5 separate regions of the Homo sapiens genome follow, and all the other regions are linked to region 1. Evidence: promoter capture Hi-C in human tissues and cell types (Jung and others, 2019). All regions are on one chromosome and are shown on one strand. The core of a region is centred on a gene start or on the middle of the fragment in contact, and the rest is flanking DNA. Distances in the headings are between cores, read along the strand shown.

What was found. The method cuts DNA at HindIII sites, captures the fragments that hold promoters and counts their contacts. A contact is called where the count stands out against the background at its distance.
Region 2: the fragment with the promoter of ZNF264 here is called in contact with the fragment with the promoter of ZNF211 in region 1 in 1 of the 25 tissues and cell types used here (ovary).
Region 3: a contact is called between the fragment with the promoter of ZNF135 here and the fragment with the promoter of ZNF211 in region 1, in 2 of the 25 tissues and cell types used here (adrenal gland and small bowel).
Region 4: a contact is called between the fragment with the promoter of C19orf18 here and the fragment with the promoter of ZNF211 in region 1, in 2 of the 25 tissues and cell types used here (pancreas and psoas muscle).
Region 5: a fragment that was not itself captured here is called in contact with the fragment with the promoter of ZNF211 in region 1 in 2 of the 25 tissues and cell types used here (heart left ventricle and spleen).

The regions. Positions count from the first base shown.
Region 1 is chr19:57,631,224-57,634,766 of GRCh38, forward strand. It overlaps ZNF211 (zinc finger protein 211), which reads left to right and starts at 1,945. Exons shown (of 4, transcript NM_006385.5): 1 at 1,945-2,213; 2 at 2,800-2,838; 3 at 3,406-3,532. The coding sequence starts at 2,124. RefSeq lists enhancers at 1,545-1,634, 1,705-1,754 and a silencer at 2,195-2,264. The HindIII fragment of the contact is 12,794 bases long and covers 1-2,952 here.
Region 2 is chr19:57,189,824-57,193,366 of GRCh38, forward strand. ZNF264 (zinc finger protein 264) reads left to right here and starts at 1,677. Exons shown (of 4, transcript NM_003417.5): 1 at 1,677-2,123. The coding sequence starts at 2,091. RefSeq lists enhancers at 1,513-1,572, 1,593-1,682, 1,693-1,752 and a silencer at 1,923-2,192. The HindIII fragment of the contact is 13,408 bases long and covers 1-3,543 here.
Region 3 is chr19:58,057,313-58,060,855 of GRCh38, forward strand. ZNF135 (zinc finger protein 135) reads left to right here and starts at 1,970. Exons shown (of 5, transcript NM_001289401.2): 1 at 1,970-1,998; 2 at 2,657-2,723. The coding sequence starts at 2,691. The HindIII fragment of the contact is 8,855 bases long and covers 1-3,543 here.
Region 4 is chr19:57,972,850-57,976,392 of GRCh38, forward strand. C19orf18 (chromosome 19 open reading frame 18) reads right to left here and starts at 1,685. Exons shown (of 6, transcript NM_152474.5): 1 at 1,463-1,685; 2 at 1,250-1,354. The coding sequence starts at 1,583. The HindIII fragment of the contact is 10,862 bases long and covers 1-3,543 here.
Region 5 is chr19:57,368,493-57,372,035 of GRCh38, forward strand. It overlaps ZNF547 (zinc finger protein 547), which reads left to right. Exons shown (of 4, transcript NM_173631.4): 2 at 52-87; 3 at 3,290-3,416. The coding sequence starts at 64. Among named protein-coding and RNA genes, the nearest start is that of ZNF547, 6.7 kb to the left of the region's middle. The HindIII fragment of the contact is 8,803 bases long and covers 1-3,543 here.

The sequences.
Region 1 (3,543 bases), core at 695-3,194:
TGAGGAAATTCAGCATGTGTAGGATATAGAGGAGATACATGGTAGGAGGTGAAGCAATATGTAATGGTTGGTTCTGTAATATAGGCCCAGCCAAGAACTCTAACCTTTTTCCTAAAAACAATGACAAGCCCATTGTGAGATCTAACCAGATGTACAATAGTAGTCATTCCACTTATAAATTTTTGTAGTAAATGTGTAAACAAATACATTATATATTTGATAAAATCATTTCACAACTTTTAATTTTATTTTATTTTACTGGTATTAATTTGTCCTAAAGGATCATTTTTATTGTGAAACGTAAAATTTGATCTATCTAATATATATAAAATGTATATGTGTACATTTAACAATGTGCATATATGTACCTTAAAATAATATAAACTTTCTGGGCGACGGAGTGAGGCCCTGTTTAAAATAATGATAATAATTTGATATTTTATGCATTAAAAACTTTTGTCTGGGCATGGTGACTCATGCTTGTAATCTCAGCAGTTTGGGAGGCTGAGGCAAGAAGATTGCATGGCCCTAGGAGTTTGAGACTAGCCTGGGCCCTATAGGGAGACTCCATTCCTACAATAATTTTTTTTTTAACTAGCCGGGTGTGGTGGTGTGCTTGTAGTGCCAGCTACTCAAGAGGCTGAGGTGGGAGGATCACTTGAGCCCAGGAAGTGGAGGCTGCAATGAGCTATGATTGTTCCACTGTACTCCAGCCTGGACAACAGAGTGAGACCCTGTCTCAAAAAAAAATTAAATGTTTTGATTATACAAGGAAAATGAACATTCATGTATTAAAGCTTCATGTTTTATGAACAAAACTGACTTTGCAGGCAGGAGAGCGTTTTCTGGGGGCACCAGAAGCAGGGAACTTCCCTTGTCCGTTGGCTTCAGGGCTGCCCACTATCCCTCCACTATCTTCCCATTGTAGCCCTGTCTGGTGTCTTTTGTCCCTGACAAAACCTACAAAAAGTGACTTTAACACTTCAGGCTGCATGCATTTGAAGAGCAATAAGATAACGTTTTTTCGCTTCCCACTACCAGTGGAGATCTGCTGGGGTGGGCTGCATGGAATCTGAAATGATGTCTAAATACTGAAGTGAACCTCTACACTAGAGACTGATATACAGCTGACCCTTAAACGACGCAGGGGTCAGGGATACCGACCCCTGCGGAATTGAAAATGCTTGTATTACTTTTGACTCCCCTAGGTCTTAACTACTAATAGCCAACTGTTGCCCGGAAGCCTTATGAAGTTGCCCGGAAGCCTTATGAATTACATAAACTCCCAGTCGATTAACACATTTTGTATGATATATGCATGATATATGCATAATATATATGATATATGCATTTTGTATGATATATGCATTATATATATTTTAGTATAAGAACTATACTTGTACTAAAACAGACCAGAGAAAGGGTATCAGGAAAATTGTAAGAGGCTCGTTGACATTACACCCAATTAAAAAAAGGAAAATAAAAGAATACGGAAGGGAAAATACATTTACTAATCATTAAGTGGAAGTGGATCATCATAAAGGTCTTCATCCTTGTGTTCTTCATGCTGGGCAAGAGAATGAGGTCTTGCTGTCTCTGGGGCAAGAGGTCGGGGAGCTGGAAGAGGCAGGAAAAGGAGCACACTCGAAGTAACGTTTATTGGGGAAAAAAAACGCCTACGTGTAAATGGACCCGCACAGCTCAAACCTGTGTTGTTCAAGTGTCAACCTACTTAAGACCTCAAACACCGAAGCCCCTCAGTCGCCCTGGAAGGCAGCAGACGCAGCTTCCTAGCGCTCCCAGCTGTCTGCACACAAGGCGCCCTCCGTCGCAGCCTGGGGGAGACTACATTACCCAGAAAGCCTTGCGTCGAGCGGCAGTACTTTGATCCAATGAAAATCCAAGACAGGGGCATTTCCGTGTGGGTCTACCCCCGCCCCCCCCAGGGCGGGACTTGTGGCGTCTTCGCAGCGGTCATTTTGGCTGCCCTCCCGGAGGTCCGTTCTGTCTGTCAGCCGCTTTGGTACGCTGCATCGGGATCGAAGTGACGGACCGTGAAGGCGCGAGAGTCAGGTCTGAGGGTCGGGGGCAGAGCCGCCCGCGAGGCCGGCCTGGGGATAGCGATGCTCGGGTTCCCCCCGGGTCGCCCGCAGCTCCCGGTCCAGCTCCGCCCACAGACTCGGATGGCGACCGCACTGAGGGACCCGGCTTCGGTGAGCGCTGCGATCTCCGGGCCTCCCCCGGCCGAGATTCTTAAGTCCCAAGTGAGAGGCACCAGCTCACGTCTCTGTAGCACAGGGTCGGGGACACTGAGGCTCGTGGGTGGGGCCCCTATTTCTGACATCCGATGTGGTGGGCAGGGGGACAAGGGACAGGACCGGCGCGTGCAGGGCTTGGACGGGCAACCGAGAAGGGGGCATTCAGGAACCTGGGCTCCACATTGTTACTGCAGGGAACAAAGTTTGAGAGAGATCTACCTTTATTCTTAGGGCCGTGGGAGCCATAGAGAGCTTGCGCAAACGAGAGACACCATCTGAGTTAAATTTGAAAAATCCTCTGCAGGCTGTTCAGTGGAAGAAAAGACTTTAGAGATGGATGAGGACGTTGAGGCAGAGGGAGGTTGAATATTTTTCCAAGGCCACACAACTGGTGAGAGGCAGCACTAAGGACCGAGGCGCACAGGTTAGACAGTCGACCCAAAGTTACGTGGCTCTGGGCCGGGGCAAGGGTACAGGGAAGGCCTGTGCCCATGGAGCACTGCCATGATCACATTCCTCTGAGGCCTGCGTCTTTCCACAGGTTCCCATAGCTACAGAGGTGCTTTTCAAACTTACACAGGTAAGTGGAGGTATCTCAGCCCCTCACTGGTCTGGAATGTCCCTCCACCCTCCCCAGACAGATATTTTCTTTAGATTTGTGGTGTCATGGGACTCACCTACCATTCTCTCAGCGTTTGGTTTGGGAACCCTGGAGAATCCCTGAGCTAAGGGCCCTGAGTCCAGGCCAATGTTTCCATTTGGAGCAGCCAATGGAAAGATGGGTGAAAATTTATGATAGAAACAGGTAGGTACCAGCTTTTGGAACTCCTTGGAGGTGAGGCTGAGCTGGTTCAGGGAACTGCAGGTTTCCTTTATTTCTGTGAAGTTTGGCATCTATTGTGAGGAAGTTGGAGTTTGGGATCAGAGGAGGGAGATTTATCTAACCCAAGTGTTGACAGGATACAGAGTGGAAAACAGAATGAACACAGTGACTAATGGGAATGTGAAGAGACAGCAGGGATCAATGACACCAAGGTCTGGTGTCTCTTCTGACTTGGGGATCTTGGGAGGAGAATGTATGGGGACATGGATTTTGAGTCTTCCAAATTGAGACTGTTCATGGTTTCATCAATCCCTATTATGCTAGGGAAGTGTGACCTTTGAAGATGTGGCCGTGTACTTCTCCTGGGAGGAATGGGATCTCCTTGATGAGGCTCAGAAACACCTGTACTTCGATGTGATGCTGGAGAACTTTGCACTTACGTCCTCCCTGGGTAAGGCCCTC
Region 2 (3,543 bases), core at 427-2,926, 440 kb before region 1:
CTGAGGCAGGAGGATCGCTTGAACCTAGGAGGCAGAGGTTGCAGTGAGCGGAGATCGTGCCACTGCACTCCAGCCTAGGTGAAAGAACAAAACTCTGTCTCAAAAAAAAAAAAGAAAGAAAGAAAGAAAACTATAGCGTTAGATTAACCTTTGAGTTAATCTGAGTGGCCACGTGGTCATCTATGGTATGCAGCCACCCACAATACCCCTCCTCAGCATAAAGCAGCCAGAAAGATCACGTCCAGATTCCCCATGATTGAGGAATTGATAAATAGAAACAGGGAACTGAAACCAGCTCCAGTGTCCCATAGAACTGATATTTATGGTTTCTTTTGAATCAACACATTATAGACATTGAGCCTCCCCTTCCTAAAACTCGAGACACTTTTATTTGTCTTATCTGATTTCCTTTCTCAGGAAACCAAGCATCAGGCCTCCCAGATAGTATAAAGAAACTGAAACTTACTGGATTACCACATCTGGAAAAACGAGATGCTATACCCCTTACCCATGATGATTGCCTAACTGACCATCTGCTGCCTGTTGACCCATTCCTCTTCCTTACCCCTTCCTAATTCCTGTTTTCTCAAACATAGTTACACTTCTTCCCTGATGTATAAACCCCTAGTTTTAGTCAGTTGAGGAAAGAGATTTGAGATTGATCTCCCATTTTCCTCAGCTGCAGCACCGAATAAAGCCTTCATCCCTGACAATACTCATTGTCTTGCTGACTGGCCTTCTGTGCAGCAAGCAGCAGGATCTAGATGCAAGGACCTGGCCTTTCTGGTAATATTGTCATCAACCATTTAATGATGTAGACTTGGTCCCCGGCTCATGCTCTGTGTATTTTCTTCTCCATCTACATGCATTGCCTTGATGGTCTCACTCAATATCATGACTTGAAATAACAGTGTAAGGTAACTCCTAAATTCATATATTCATGCTCAAACCTTCTTCCAACATTCAGTCGTAAGTCGAATTGCCTGTGACAGAGATACTTTGTGGTTCTGTAGACATTTCAAACTAACCATCCTGAGCCTCCGAACCTCCTCCACTTGCAGCCTCCCCACCTCAGAAGTGGGCAAATCCACTTTTTGTGTGGTCTGGGCCAAATACATGACTCCCTGCATCACGTAGAGGCTGTGCTGGTCCAAAGAAGGCTCAAAAGAGGGCAGTTTGCGCACACAACGTGTCGGGGCAGGGCTTCCAGATGATCATTCGGCTTTTTTGTGTCTTCCAAGATGATGATCCGGGGAGGAGGGATGTGAAAGGGGGTCAGTCGCCAGGCGAGCTGAGGACCCAGTTCTGCGCCTTTGCCTGTGCCCTGACCTGAAGGAAAGTCCCTGTCTCCCGAGCTCCGATTTTCCCGAGAGAAGAATGCAATGTAACCCTTGCCCCTCGGTTCCCTCCCTCCATCCTTCCCCTCGAGTTGTGCCCACCGTAAAGAGGTGGGTCTGGAGCGTCTCCTCGGGTCCTGGAGTGCCTTTCCCTGGGAGGAAAACTTGCGCCGTGAAGCGTTCCTCCCGTTGTTGAACACATGAGGAAAACTACACTACTTAGAAGGCTGTGCATTATGCGTACGGCGGGAGCTGGGCCAACGACGGCCTAGGACGGGGACGTTTCCGACGGCTCACGCCGGTGGGGGCGGGACTTCCGGGTTGCTCGCTGCGGACGCCATTTTCTTCTGCACTTCTGTCTGGAGAGGTCTGTAGCCACTGAGGGCCCCGGTCGGGGCCGCTTTGCAGGTCCCTAGTCAGGACCGAGCAGGGGAGTAGGATAGGAATCCCCGCCGCACCTTTGTACGAGCCTGACCCCTTCCGTGGGTTTGTTCCTGGGTCGCCGTCAAGCTGCGGTCTCTCCTCCCCCGCCCTTCAGCCCCGCGGTCTCCAGGGGCGGCGCCCTGGGTCTGGAACGCGGTTGCCACCGAGGAGGCGGCGGCCCTGCGTCTGGAACGCCGTTGCCACCGAGGAGGCGGCGGCCCCGAGCGCGCCTGGAAGCCCCGGGCAACCGGCCAGGGTCGGGCACAGGTGGGGTCCGTCAGGCCGCCCGGGGCTCCTCTGTCCCAGCTCTGCGGCCCAGGGGGTGACGTGATGGCGGCAGCGGTGCTGACGGACCGGGCCCAGGTGAGTGGACGGTGGCTTCGCGGTTGCCGCTTCCTTGCCAGCGCTGAGGCGGTTTCCGAAGTGGGTGGGAGCCCAGGTATCCCCTGGATTTGTCTTCGCAGTCGTCGTTCGCTTTGGTGTGTGGAGCTGGTTTGCCACTTAATTTATACCTGGCCGTAAGGAGTGTTGGGCCTACTGGAAGGAGCTCCGTAGGTTGTTGAGTGAATGATGCTTCCTCTGGGGACTCCCATCATCCTTGGCCTGCAAGCATTCTCTGGTGGACCAGGTCTCATTCCAGCATGAATTGGGGGCCTGAGGGGGGAAGGGGAGGGCAGGGCAGTAGCAAGCCGACAAATGCGCGAGCAGAGACAAGGTATGTTGTATGTTTAAGGAGGCTCAGGAGGGTGTGTAAGGTTGCCATGGTTTTCCTGCGGCCGCTGAGACGTGGAGGGCAACAGTGTGTGGTCTTTTCCTGGATGTTCTAGCCATCCGCAACTACTGCAGACATTGTGGCCAGTCAGATGCCCTTACTCTCATCGCTACAGCCTGCATTATCCTTGGCCGCTCGTGTTCCGTGGCCCCAAAGTATCCTGGCGTCAGAGACAAGTTCTGTCGGAACCCAGTAAGGAAAGAGGCCGATGGTTGGTTCATTGTGGAATTTCCTTGGGGGATCTGGGAGACCCAGGGAGATCCCAGAGGGCATGGGAAGCTGGTCTGGAGCCTGTCGTTCCCCAAGTAGATGCAGCCCTTCCAGTGCCGCTCTGTGGGGTCAGTGAGGAATGCTGAGCTTTTTGTGCCCGTGTTCACATACTTTTTTTTGTTTTGAGACAGGGTCTCACTCTGTCGCCCAGGCTGGAGTACAGTGGTGCACTCTCAGCTCACTGCAGTCTCTGCCTCCCAGGTTCAAGCAATTCTCCTGCCCCAGCCTGCCGAGTAGTTGGGATTACAGGCATGCACTACCACACCTGACTGATTTTTGTATTTTAGTAGAGACTGGGTTTCACCATATTTGCCAGGCTGGTCTTCAACTCCTGGCCTCAAGCGATCCGCCCACCTCGACCTCCCAAAGTGCTGGGATTACATGCATGAGCCACCATGCCCGGCCCACAGATACGTTTTTCAGGGCTAATTGAAATAGACTTAATGTTAGAAATGAGTGGAAATGCTTATAACTTCATCGCATTAGATTTGCTTTGATGTTGGGGGAGTGTTGGAGTTACACTGTTAGACCGTGAATCATAGTAACCCCATGTTTAGATCCTATCTATGGTGGTGAGATGTGTGACTGGGTGAATTGATAGCGCTTCCTTAGCATGAAGTCATTGACTGTGAAGGTGATGATGGTGTTGACTGCAGGGACTGTGAAAGGATTAATAAAAATCCCAGAGCACACTGAGCATTGAATACTTTAAATTTAACAACTGTTACTGGTGGGAAGTGT
Region 3 (3,543 bases), core at 720-3,219, 430 kb after region 1:
TATTTTAAATGTATGTGTTGAACAGATTAACTTTTTGAACATTAACATACAGCATGACACAGTTCTGCTATCCATGCTGTGATTGCAGGATTGCTTGGAAGCTGTACTGATGTGCAGCCCACCTGCTCATGGTGGGGGGTCCTGTTCCAGGCCACAGAGAGGCAACCAGCAATGCTCTGCTTGGAGATTCGTACAGGAAGCCAAGAAGGAGCTGAGAGGGGCCCAGCCAGTGGTTACAAGAGACAGCAGGAGGTTCAGACCACAGCAAGGGTGGCACTGGAGTAGCCTCCAGCTCATCTTATTTGACTGGTAGAGTGTTATTAAAGCCTTTGAAATCCCTACCAGCTTTTAAAAATCAAGAGATTTCACATAGAAATCCTGATCTCTGGGTTCTTTAGAGAAATCCAGACCTGGGACGCTGGGCTTGCCAGTCCGCACGACCCCACTTGGCTGGAGCCAAGCAGCACTTGCCCCTGTAGAAAGAGCCCGCCCCTGCAAAAGCATGTACGGTTTAGAAACCTGGCTGAGAAAAACAGAGGATCAGAAGGTCTGAGGGAGGAAACAGAGGGGCAAGTTTGAGGGAGCTGGGCAGGGCCGCCTGGCCACCATCAGGGCTGAGCAGGCTCAGTGTGGCACCACTGACAGCTTCTCACCAGGACTATCAGACCGCTTGGGAAAAAGACTTCACCATGAGTTGTGTGTTCATACCTTTTGATCCAGTAAAAGGAAACGGTTGGGGGTGGGGGTGGGGGGCAAGAGTATACATTTTGTGAAAGAAAAAATACACAAAAAGATGTTTTGTGGCATTTGGGTTTGTGAGTTCGAGAACTGAAAAACGGCATTTTATGTATAATGGAAAGCCTCTTTACTGCTGTAGAGTGAAAAGCAGGCTGGCTTTCAGTGCGACGGTCACAAATGTGGGGCTTTACAGTACTTGGAATGTACAGGACGCCCTTAAAAGCCAAGAAGCTTGCCTTTGCTTTGTTTACATCAGTGCATTATGATTTTGAGCCATTATATCTCTTCATAATTGCCACTGTTTTAGGGCTTATGAAATTTAAAGTCTTAACTTGTGTGTTAACCAGCCAAATCTTTGCAAGTGTCTGTGTGTGGTACGAGAATTCGTATTGTGTTCTCTGCTGTTTTCAGAGTTGTTTCAGTCAAAGAAAAAAAAATGCCCGTCTTAAAACTTTTCCTCTGCTTCAAATACAGCTCCCAAGCCCAGGCTGATTGGAATTAATCTGTCCTCCCTTAAAAGGGCAAAAGCACAAGGCTCAGCCCTGGCTTTCCCAGCTCCTCTGGTCTCGCTGCTCCACGGACGTGTGACGTACGCTGGTGAAACGAAGCCCGCTTGAATGGGGGCTTCACTATTGTGTGCTGCTGAACCTAGGCCTAGCGCCTGGCAGGCTTTGGTGAATGTTCAGAAAATGACAATTCATTTCGTGTCAGCGAGGGCACACCAGCTTTGAATATTTTGCTGCTGTTCAAATGCACAATTTTGACAATTACCTAGCAATGTCCAAAGTCGTCATAATTGTTAGTGTCTTGCACGTGATGTTCCTTATAACCATGTAATAAATACAGTGTGAAGTCTCCATGGCTGCCTCAGTGTGGAAAATGCAAAGACTCCCGTGTGTGCGATCTTGGTGAATGTTTTGGTTGAAAGTATGTGTTTTGAAAAAATCATTGCTTTGTTTGCAGCAGTAAAACTGACGGTAGAGTTTCCAACACGAAAGCCCGTGTGGTCGCGCCGGGAGCTCACGGCGTTCCAAGCGGCACTTATCCCGCGTTGATGCCCAGGCACCCCGCGCGCCCTGTTTCACCAGGCCCAGTCACTCCAGCTCCAGCAGCACTGAGAGCTCACGAACGCCAAGGGCGAGAGCGAGGTGGGGGAGGGCGGCCGGAAATGCGCGCGCGGCTCTCTGGGAAATGGAGTTAGGCTCGCGCCGGCGCAGTGTCGGCTGCCGGTGCCGCGGCCTTTGTCTCGCAGTCAGGAGGGTGAGCTAGGCCGGCGAGGAGGGGGAGGGGAGGCCAGGCCGGGCCGGGCCGGGCCGGGTGCGGGGGGTCCGGGGATCTTCCTGAGGCCCTGGCGGGGCGAGTTTCCAGCAGCGCGCGTCTGTGTGGAGTCCGTTTTGCTGCCCGGGGCCTGGGGAAGGCCGTTTCGGGGCTGGCGGGGGCAGGCTTTGCGGGGCATCCCTAGTCTGAGAGGAGGGCGGGGCCCAACGCCCAGCTGGACAGGAGCTGCTCCGACGGCCCCTGAGGGAACGCGCGCCCCGCCCCTGGCCCCACCTCTGCCCCACACCGGGCACTGGGCCGCCACCTTTGTTGATGGAAGAGAGAAACTGAGGCATAGTGCCCAGGGCCAGGGGACCGCAACCACCCGGCCCTTGTCACTGTAGCGTTAAGGCTCAGAGTCTGCGCAGCAGATATGTGTCCGCACCCGCCAGGCCTTCAGCTTCCCTCAGACAGGCGGGAAAACCCTAGGCTGCCCTTCTCCGAGCGGAGGGCCGCCCCACACACAGCAGGCGCTTAAACGGGTACGCGGGGCCCTGGACGGCTCTCCGCGGAGCTCCCCAGGCTCTGGCGCAGTTCCCCGGCTTGGGGACCTGAGCACCGCCTCTGCCTGCCCCAGCTGCTCACCTCCCCTTTCCCACAGAGCAGGGCCAGCCGTTCCTGCCAGAAGCCAGGGCATGACCCCTGGGGTGCGCGTCTCCACAGACCCGGTGAGAATCTCGGCCTCCTTGCGCGTGTCCTCCACCTCGTGCCCGGCCTCCTCGCGCGCGGCCTTCTCACGCCCGGCCTCCTCTTTGCACCCCGTCCCTACTCGCGCTCAGCCTCCTCCTTGTGCCCGGCCCCTACTTGCGTGCCCGGCCCCTACTCGTGCCCGGCCTCTACTCGCACAACTGGCCTCTACTCGCGCACCTGGCCTCTACTGGTGCCCGGCCTCTACTCGTGCCCGGCCTCTATTTGCACATCTAGCCTCTACTCGTGTCCGGCCTCTACCTGCACACCCGGCCTCCTAAAGTCCGCGCCAAGCTCCCCAACCACAGCCTGCCTCTGAAAGGACCGCCCACGCCGCGCTGGAGGTCAGCGGGCACGGGTCCCTGTCTGAGTGGGCTTTATGTTTGTGCGGCCGTCATTGCATACCTGAGGCTGGGTGATGTCAGAAAATTGTAGGTGCCCCGGCTCTGCAGTCTGAAGTTGAAGGCCTTAGCATGCTCTGCGCTCCAAGATGGCGCATCGAGTGCCGCTTCCTCAGACGTCATGGAGGCCAAGGGGGCGGAACTCGCCTTTTTATGATGACATTAACCCCACCCATAAGCCACCAGAAGAAACCAGCCTCCTGTAGGAATGTCAGAAAACCCGTACAAGGGGACTGGTGCGATGGCTTGTAGCTGTAATCCCAGCTATGGGGGAGGATTGCTTGAGCCCAGGAGTTGGAGGCTGCAGTGAGCCATGATGTGCCACTGCACTCCAGCCTGAATGACAGTGGAACCCTGTCTCTAAAAAATTAAAAAACAAACCCAGATTTGGCCGGGCGCG
Region 4 (3,543 bases), core at 435-2,934, 340 kb after region 1:
GGGGCTACGACCTCATTAGAAGGTCAGCAAGGGTTGGGCACAGTGGCTCATGCCTGTAATCCCAGCGAGGAAGGCAGATCACGAGGTCAGGAGTTCGAGACCAGCCTGACCAACATGGTGAAACCCCGTCTCTACTGAAAATACAAAAATTAGCTGGGCATGGTGGCACGCGCCTGTAGTCCCAGCTACTCAGGAGGCTGAGGCAGGAGAATTGCTTGAACCCGGCGGTGGAGGTTGTGGTGAGCCGAGATTGCGCCACTGCACTCCAGCTGGGTGACAGAGTGAGACTCCGTCTCAAAAAAAAAAAAAAAAAAAAAAAAAAAAAAAAAAAAAAAAGGATCAGAGAGCCAGGCAGAGAGGCCAGGGAACCAACAATAGTGTCCTTTCCTCGGACACAAATTACATGCAAATGTATCACACAGACAGCATTTCCCTTGCATGGAATGGAGATTATTTACAAGCATCATATATCTCCACAAAGGGTTGCTGAGCTTCAAAGATTGTCGGGGTTGGTTTTGCTGTTATAAGATAAACAAACATCCTCTAGTACTCAAATTAGAAGGGAACCATAGAAAATGCTTATAAAGAATTCTCGGCTGGGCATGGTGGCTCATGCCTGTAATCCCAGCACTTTGAGAGGCCGAGGCGGGCGGATCATGAGGTCAGGAGATCAAGACCATCCTGGCTAACACAGTGAAACCCTGTCTCTACTAAAAATACAAAAAATTAGCTTGGCGTGGTGGCGGGTGCCTGTAGTCCCAGCTACTTGGGAGGCTGAGGCAGGAGAATGGTGTGAACCCAGGAGGTGGAGCTTGCAGTGAGCCGAGATCGCGCCACTGCACTCCAGCCTGGGCGACAGAGCAAGACTCTGTCTCAAAAAAAAAAAAAAGAAAAAAAAGAATTCTGTACACTCACAAACCTTCTGTGTCTAGACTTGCATGCTCTACTGCCAAATGTGCACCAAATTCAAGTCAGACAGGCATACCTGTGTAATCTGGATGGGATCAAGGTTTTTGTGTGCGCTTATTAAAGTGAAATGAAAAAGAGAAGAAAGTGGCAATCCCTAAAGAGAAAGCAGTTAACAGAGAGTGAAGAGCATAAGATCTAATTTCCAAGCAAATGTTTATCTAATTATACTCTATTTTATGGACCTTTCTACCAGCAAGCACACAGTACACATTCACATGGCAGATAAGAGGACTCCAGGCTACGATTCTCACTCCACTGAATGAGGAATTCAATGACTCACCCGTGGATCTCGAGGCAGCCCCTTGAATCCCAGGCAACTGGGTTTTATGAAAGAACACTTTGGGCTCTTTGGTGATGTTTCTGGGTGGTTGTGACCGTTTACTGCCTTGAAAAGAAAACTTTTTGCGGTGAAATGTAATTACCTTCTTTTTATCTCCCCTGAAACAGCTTTTCAATTCTCCCTGAGTCACATAAAACCAGTGGTTGAAGCTACCTGGTAAGCCTGTTATGTTTCCAGTGGGATGGAGTCCATCTGCATACGGCAAGCATAAATGAAGTTGGCATTCCATTAAAAACAAAAACAAAATGAGGAAACCACTCTGAACCTTGTCCATCACTCTCAAATTATCAGTATTTTATCCCGTAGATGAAAGGAAATACTTAGCTACAGTCCAGCATCTGTCCTCTATTTATCTGAGGAATCAAGAAGTTCTACTCCCTTCAGAATGTTTGGGCAGTGACTTGGAGCCACCAGTGTGAGGTCAGTCCTTGCTGTGATAATGGAGTTCCTTCATGGAACCATGCTGACCAATGGGGAGACTACAGTGTAAGAGGGCAGTGCTTGGAGGTGCAGGCATGATGAGACCAGGTCCCTGCCTGCAGTGTGCAGATTAGTGAGGAGGCAGAAAGAAATCAATTACAGTCAGCCCTCCGCATGCATAGTTCCCCATCCGTGATTTCCAACAACCTCACTTGGAAAATGTTCAGGAAAAAAGGAATGGGCACGGTGGCTCACGCCTATGATCCCAACACTTTAGGAGGTCAAGGTGGGCAGATCGCTTGAGGCCAGGAGTTCAAGACCAGCCTGGCCAACACAGTGAAAGCCCATCTCTACTAAAAATACAAAAATTTGCTGGGCGTGGTGGTGCACACCTGTAGTTCAAGCTACTTGGGAGGCTGAGGCATGAGAATCACTTGAACCCAGGAGGTGGAGGTTGCAGTGAGCTGAGATCATGCCACTGCACTCCAGCCTGGGCGACAGAGCAAGACTCTGTCTCAAAAAAATAAAACAACAAACACAAAAACAAAAACTAGCCAGGCATGGTGGCGTGTACCTGTAGTCCCAGATACTCGGGAGGCTGAGGCAGGAAGATCACTTGAGCCCAGAAGGCAGAGGTAGCAGTGAGCCAAAATCGTACCACTGCACAAAGAAAGAAAGAAAAGAAAGTGGAAGGAAAGCAGTCACCCTTAGAAGGGAGGCAATGTGCACAGGGGAGACCCACAGCAGGAAGGTAAAGGGGGACTCCTGATGACTGAAAGTGGGCCCTAGGCTTCAGAGATGGGAGGAATAGAAGACGGGCTCAAAAAAGGCAATGAACTATGTCATGTATGAGGGAGACAGAGGGGACCTGGGAGTGCTGGATGTTAGGGACCACTGAAATCAATACTGTCCAGGCTGTGCATGATAGGTGAGAGGAAGGGAATACTTCCAGGAAGAAGCAGAAGTCTGGGACTTTCTTTTGACTCGTGATGTGACCTGACCAACAGGAGGCCCTTTTTTTTTTTTTTTTTTTTTTTTGAGATGGAGTCTTGCCCTGTCACCCACACTGGAGTGCAGTGGCACAATCTTGGCTCACTGCAACCTCCACCTCCTGGGTTCAAACGATTCTCCTGCCTCAGCCTCTGGAACCGCTGGGATTACAGGCATCTGCCACCACACCCAGCTAATTTTTGTATTTTTAGTAGAGATGGGCTTTCACCATGTTGGCGGCCAGGCCAGTCTCGAACTCCTGATCTCATGATTCACCCACCTTGGCCTCCCAAAGTGCTGGGGTGACAGGAGTGAGCCACTGTGCCCTGCCAGGAGGCCCTTTAAGACATTAAAAAAACTCTTATCTGTTTAAACAGAGATGGGATCTTGCTACGTTGCAAGGCTGGCCTTGAACTCCTCAGCTCAAGCAATCCTCCTGTCCCTCCCAAAATGCTGGCATGAGCCTCGGTGCCCGGCCTAGAAATTTTTTCAAGATAATAATCTTAGTAATAAGGTTATAAGTTACCAGGATGCTTGTGGTATATTGCATATGACTTATGAAATCCTTTGGAATCTCTAAATCAGATAATTTGGATTCACTCTGGCTATTAGAATACAATATCCACATCCTACTGGTAGTATGATTCTGGATATATTATGCTGCTTTCTCCAAGATGAGATAATACTGCTAACTTCATTCTCTCCAAGGGCCTTTGCACAAATCATGTAAAAAAAAAATCCATCAATAACTAACTTGCCCCTGCCACATTTATCAGGTGACCACTAATGTGTCAGGCCTTGAAAGGACTACAATCAAATGTTAC
Region 5 (3,543 bases), core at 1-2,500, 260 kb before region 1:
GTAAGATCTTCCCATCGTTGCCCATTTCTCACGGTTTCCCTCTTCCTTCAGGGTCCCCTGGCGATGGCAGAAATGAACCCTGCACAGGTGAGTGGAGTGTTTTCTACCTTTCACCTACCAGTTATCTCATAGATGGTTTTGGCACCTCCATGTAAAGAAAAGTGGTGTCCAGAGACTCTCTTTCTGTCTTTCTCCCTCTCTTATGTCTGAAAAGTGAGTGATTCCACCAGTTCTAGTATCTTAAATTAGGTCTGGGATTTTTGTTTGATTGTTTTAAGTTTACTGTGACACCTTACCTGGATGGCCCTGGATTATGTGGAGTGGCTCCCATTTTTGACAGTTGACGTGGTAACATCTGTCAGAGTGTCATGGGCACAAGATTAAGAATGTTTCAGTGTTTAGAGGAGAGACTGAACTGGATTTTTAGGGAACTGCAAGTGTCTGTTATATCGGATAGGAATAGGGAGCAGAGTGGGAGGTGGCTAGAGACACACAAACATCAGGCCTGGAATGACAGCCTAGGTCCTGGGTCTCTAATCTAAGGGAGGTGGTAGATGGGGAAGATTTGAAGCAGAAGAGGGCAGTGATAGGACCCTAGCTTAAGGAACTTTCTTTGGCGTCTGAGTGGAGGACAGACTGTGGAGGTGAGGGTAATGGCAGGGAGATCTGAGAGGATGTTCCTGCAGCAGTCTAGGTGGATGTTGGTGGTGACTTGTCAAGAGTAGCGGTGGCTTCAGGATGTGTTTTGAACTGGAGCTGCCCACATTTTATGATGTAGAGAGTGAGGCAGCTGGGGGGGTGGGATAGAAGGGGAATCAGGAGTGGCCCCATGGTTTTTGTTTGGAAGCATAGATGCTCCATCAGCTAAGATGGGAGAAGTCAGCAGTATTAGGAATTTTCAGAGTGAGTGTGAGGAGTCAGTGTTTGTTCAAGCCACAGATGTCTCAGAGACTCCTGGTGGAGGAGTTCAGGTTGGAGACGTCCACACTATGGTGGCTGTCGTATGGACCAGGATGAAGCCATGGATTCAGTTTAGGTGACAGCATCTCTAGGTTATGGTGGCAGTGCTGTTCGAAGACAGAGAATTGGAATGGGGCATGAGAACTGGGTCTCTTACTGGGTAGCTGTGCAGTGGTGGAGGAGTCACTAGACAAATGAGGGAATGGAGTGTTTGTGGGGATGAGTGTATGTGAGATGGTGGGGTATAGGAGTGAGAAAGACTTCTGAAGGAGAGTGGACATGATGGGGTTGCTGAGGAGGGTAATAGGGTGAGGTCGGAGAGTTGCTAAGCATCAGTTGGAATGAGATGAGGATGGGAATTCTATTAGTCTGTTTTCATATTGCTACAAAGAACTACCTGAGACTGGGTACTTTATGAAGAAAAGAAGTTTAATTGACTCACAGTTCTTTTTTTTTTTTTTTTTTTTTTTTGAGATGTGGCCCAGGCTGGAGTGCAGTGGCACAATCTCGGCTCACTGCAATCTCTCCCTGCCAGGTTCAAGCGATTCTTCTGCCTCAGCCTCCTGAATAGCTGGGACGACAGACTCACCCCACTACGCCCAGCTAATTTTTGTATTTTTAGTAGAGATGGGCTTTCACCATGTTGGCCAGGATGGTCTTGATCTCCTGACCTCGTGATCCATCCTCCTCAGCCTCCCAAAGTGTTGGGATTACAGGCGTGAGCCACCGCACCCAGCCCATAGTTCTTCAGGCTTAACAGGAAGCATAACTCGGAGGCCTCAGGAAACTTACAATCCTGTGTCCATGAGGCAGGACACAGCTGAGAGTATGTGAAGTCCTCACATGGTTTGGGCACCTGACAGTGAAGTGAGAAACAGGGCCATGTAGGGAACCTTCAACCCAGGGCTTAGGGCTGCCCCCGGTGCTAGGGAACTTTGGTGTTCTGGGGCAGGACTGGGAGTGAATTGGATGCTGAGCGTATTTGCCGTGCACCACCTGGTTTCTGTGTGCAGAGTGGCCTGTTAGGAGGTGAAGGAAATGCCTGTGGTGTGGGCTGGGAGGTGTCTGTGGAATTGACTGGAGTGGAGGTGTGAGAGATGGGATTGGAGTGCTGTCCAAAGAGTGATGTGCAGGCAGGAGGAGTGTGAATGGAGGGCCTCAGGCCCTGGCCCTGGTAGCTCAAGGGAGGAGGATGAGTCTGAGTTTGGTTGTCTTGGGAGGCAAGATCTGGGTGACTCCATGGAAACTGGCTGGCAGGAGAGGATGGATCCCCCCACGGGAGGCCCACATTCCTTTTCTACCTTATCTTCCATCTGTTTCCTCTGTGTGCTGGACACGGTGGCCAATGTCAATATGGAGAGAAAAGTCACTCATGCCACCTGGATGTGGTTTCTCTTCCACATTGGGAGGGTGTAGAGATTGAGGAAGGAAAGGAGGTGTAGGGGAGAGGGATGAGTTCCTGGAGAGAGAAAAGTAGCAGTGATTGTACCCATTGGGGTTTTTTGTTTTTTTTTTTTTAGATGGAGTCTTGCTGTGTTGTCACCCAGGCTGGAGTGCAGTGGCATGATCTTGGCTCACTGCAACCTGCACCTCCTGGATTCAAGCAGTTCTGCCTCAATCTCCCAAGTAGCTAGGACTACAGGCATGTGCCGCCATGCCCACCTAATTTTTGTATTTTTAGTAGAGATGGGATTTCACTGTGTTGGCCAGGCTGGTCTTGAACTCCTGACCTCAGGTGATCTGCCCGCCTCAGCCTCCCAAAGTGCTGGGATTATAGGCATGAGCCACTGTGCCTGGCCCCCATGGAGTTTTAATTTATGGATGTGAGTGAGTGATGCCAGGGACAGGCCAATGACACTGAAAGAAGATATTTATTCCTTACGTTTCCCTAAGGAGGTTACATACCACATAACACAGGGCCACACGGTGAAACACCAGATTTGATCAGGAGGAAAATTGGAGTGAGTTTAGTTTAGTCCACAGATGCTGTTGGGGTTTCCAAGGGAAACAAGGCAGGGCTGGCTGTCAGGATAGTTTGGCTAGTTTTAGTAATTCCAGGACACCTGGGCTATTGGGACTGTCCCTAGTTGTGCAGTACCTGTCCCTGGGTTGATTTAGAGCATGGGAAATACTGACTTGGTTTGAGAAAGTTAGAGATGGAGATGGTTAAGAATATGTGCCCAGGATGGTAGGGGAGATGGAAACACATTTAGCTGTTAGTTTGTCCCTGTGTTTAATGGGTGGTAAATATAAGTAGAAAATAAATAGAGAACTTAAGTAAATACAGTTTGAAAAGCTGCTCATGTATTCATCTTTCCCAATTTGGCAGGGTCATGTGGTTTTTGAAGACGTGGCCATATATTTCTCCCAGGAGGAGTGGGGGCATCTCGATGAGGCTCAGAGATTGCTGTACCGTGATGTGATGCTGGAGAATTTGGCCCTTTTGTCCTCACTAGGTAAGGCCCTCACACTTGCCCAGTGTCCTGGGTTGGGCTGTGTTGTCTCCTTTTACCTGAAGGCAGCTCTGCGTTTCCCACAGTGAGACCATGGGTGCTGCTTCTTTTCCTTGTTTCCTGACATATG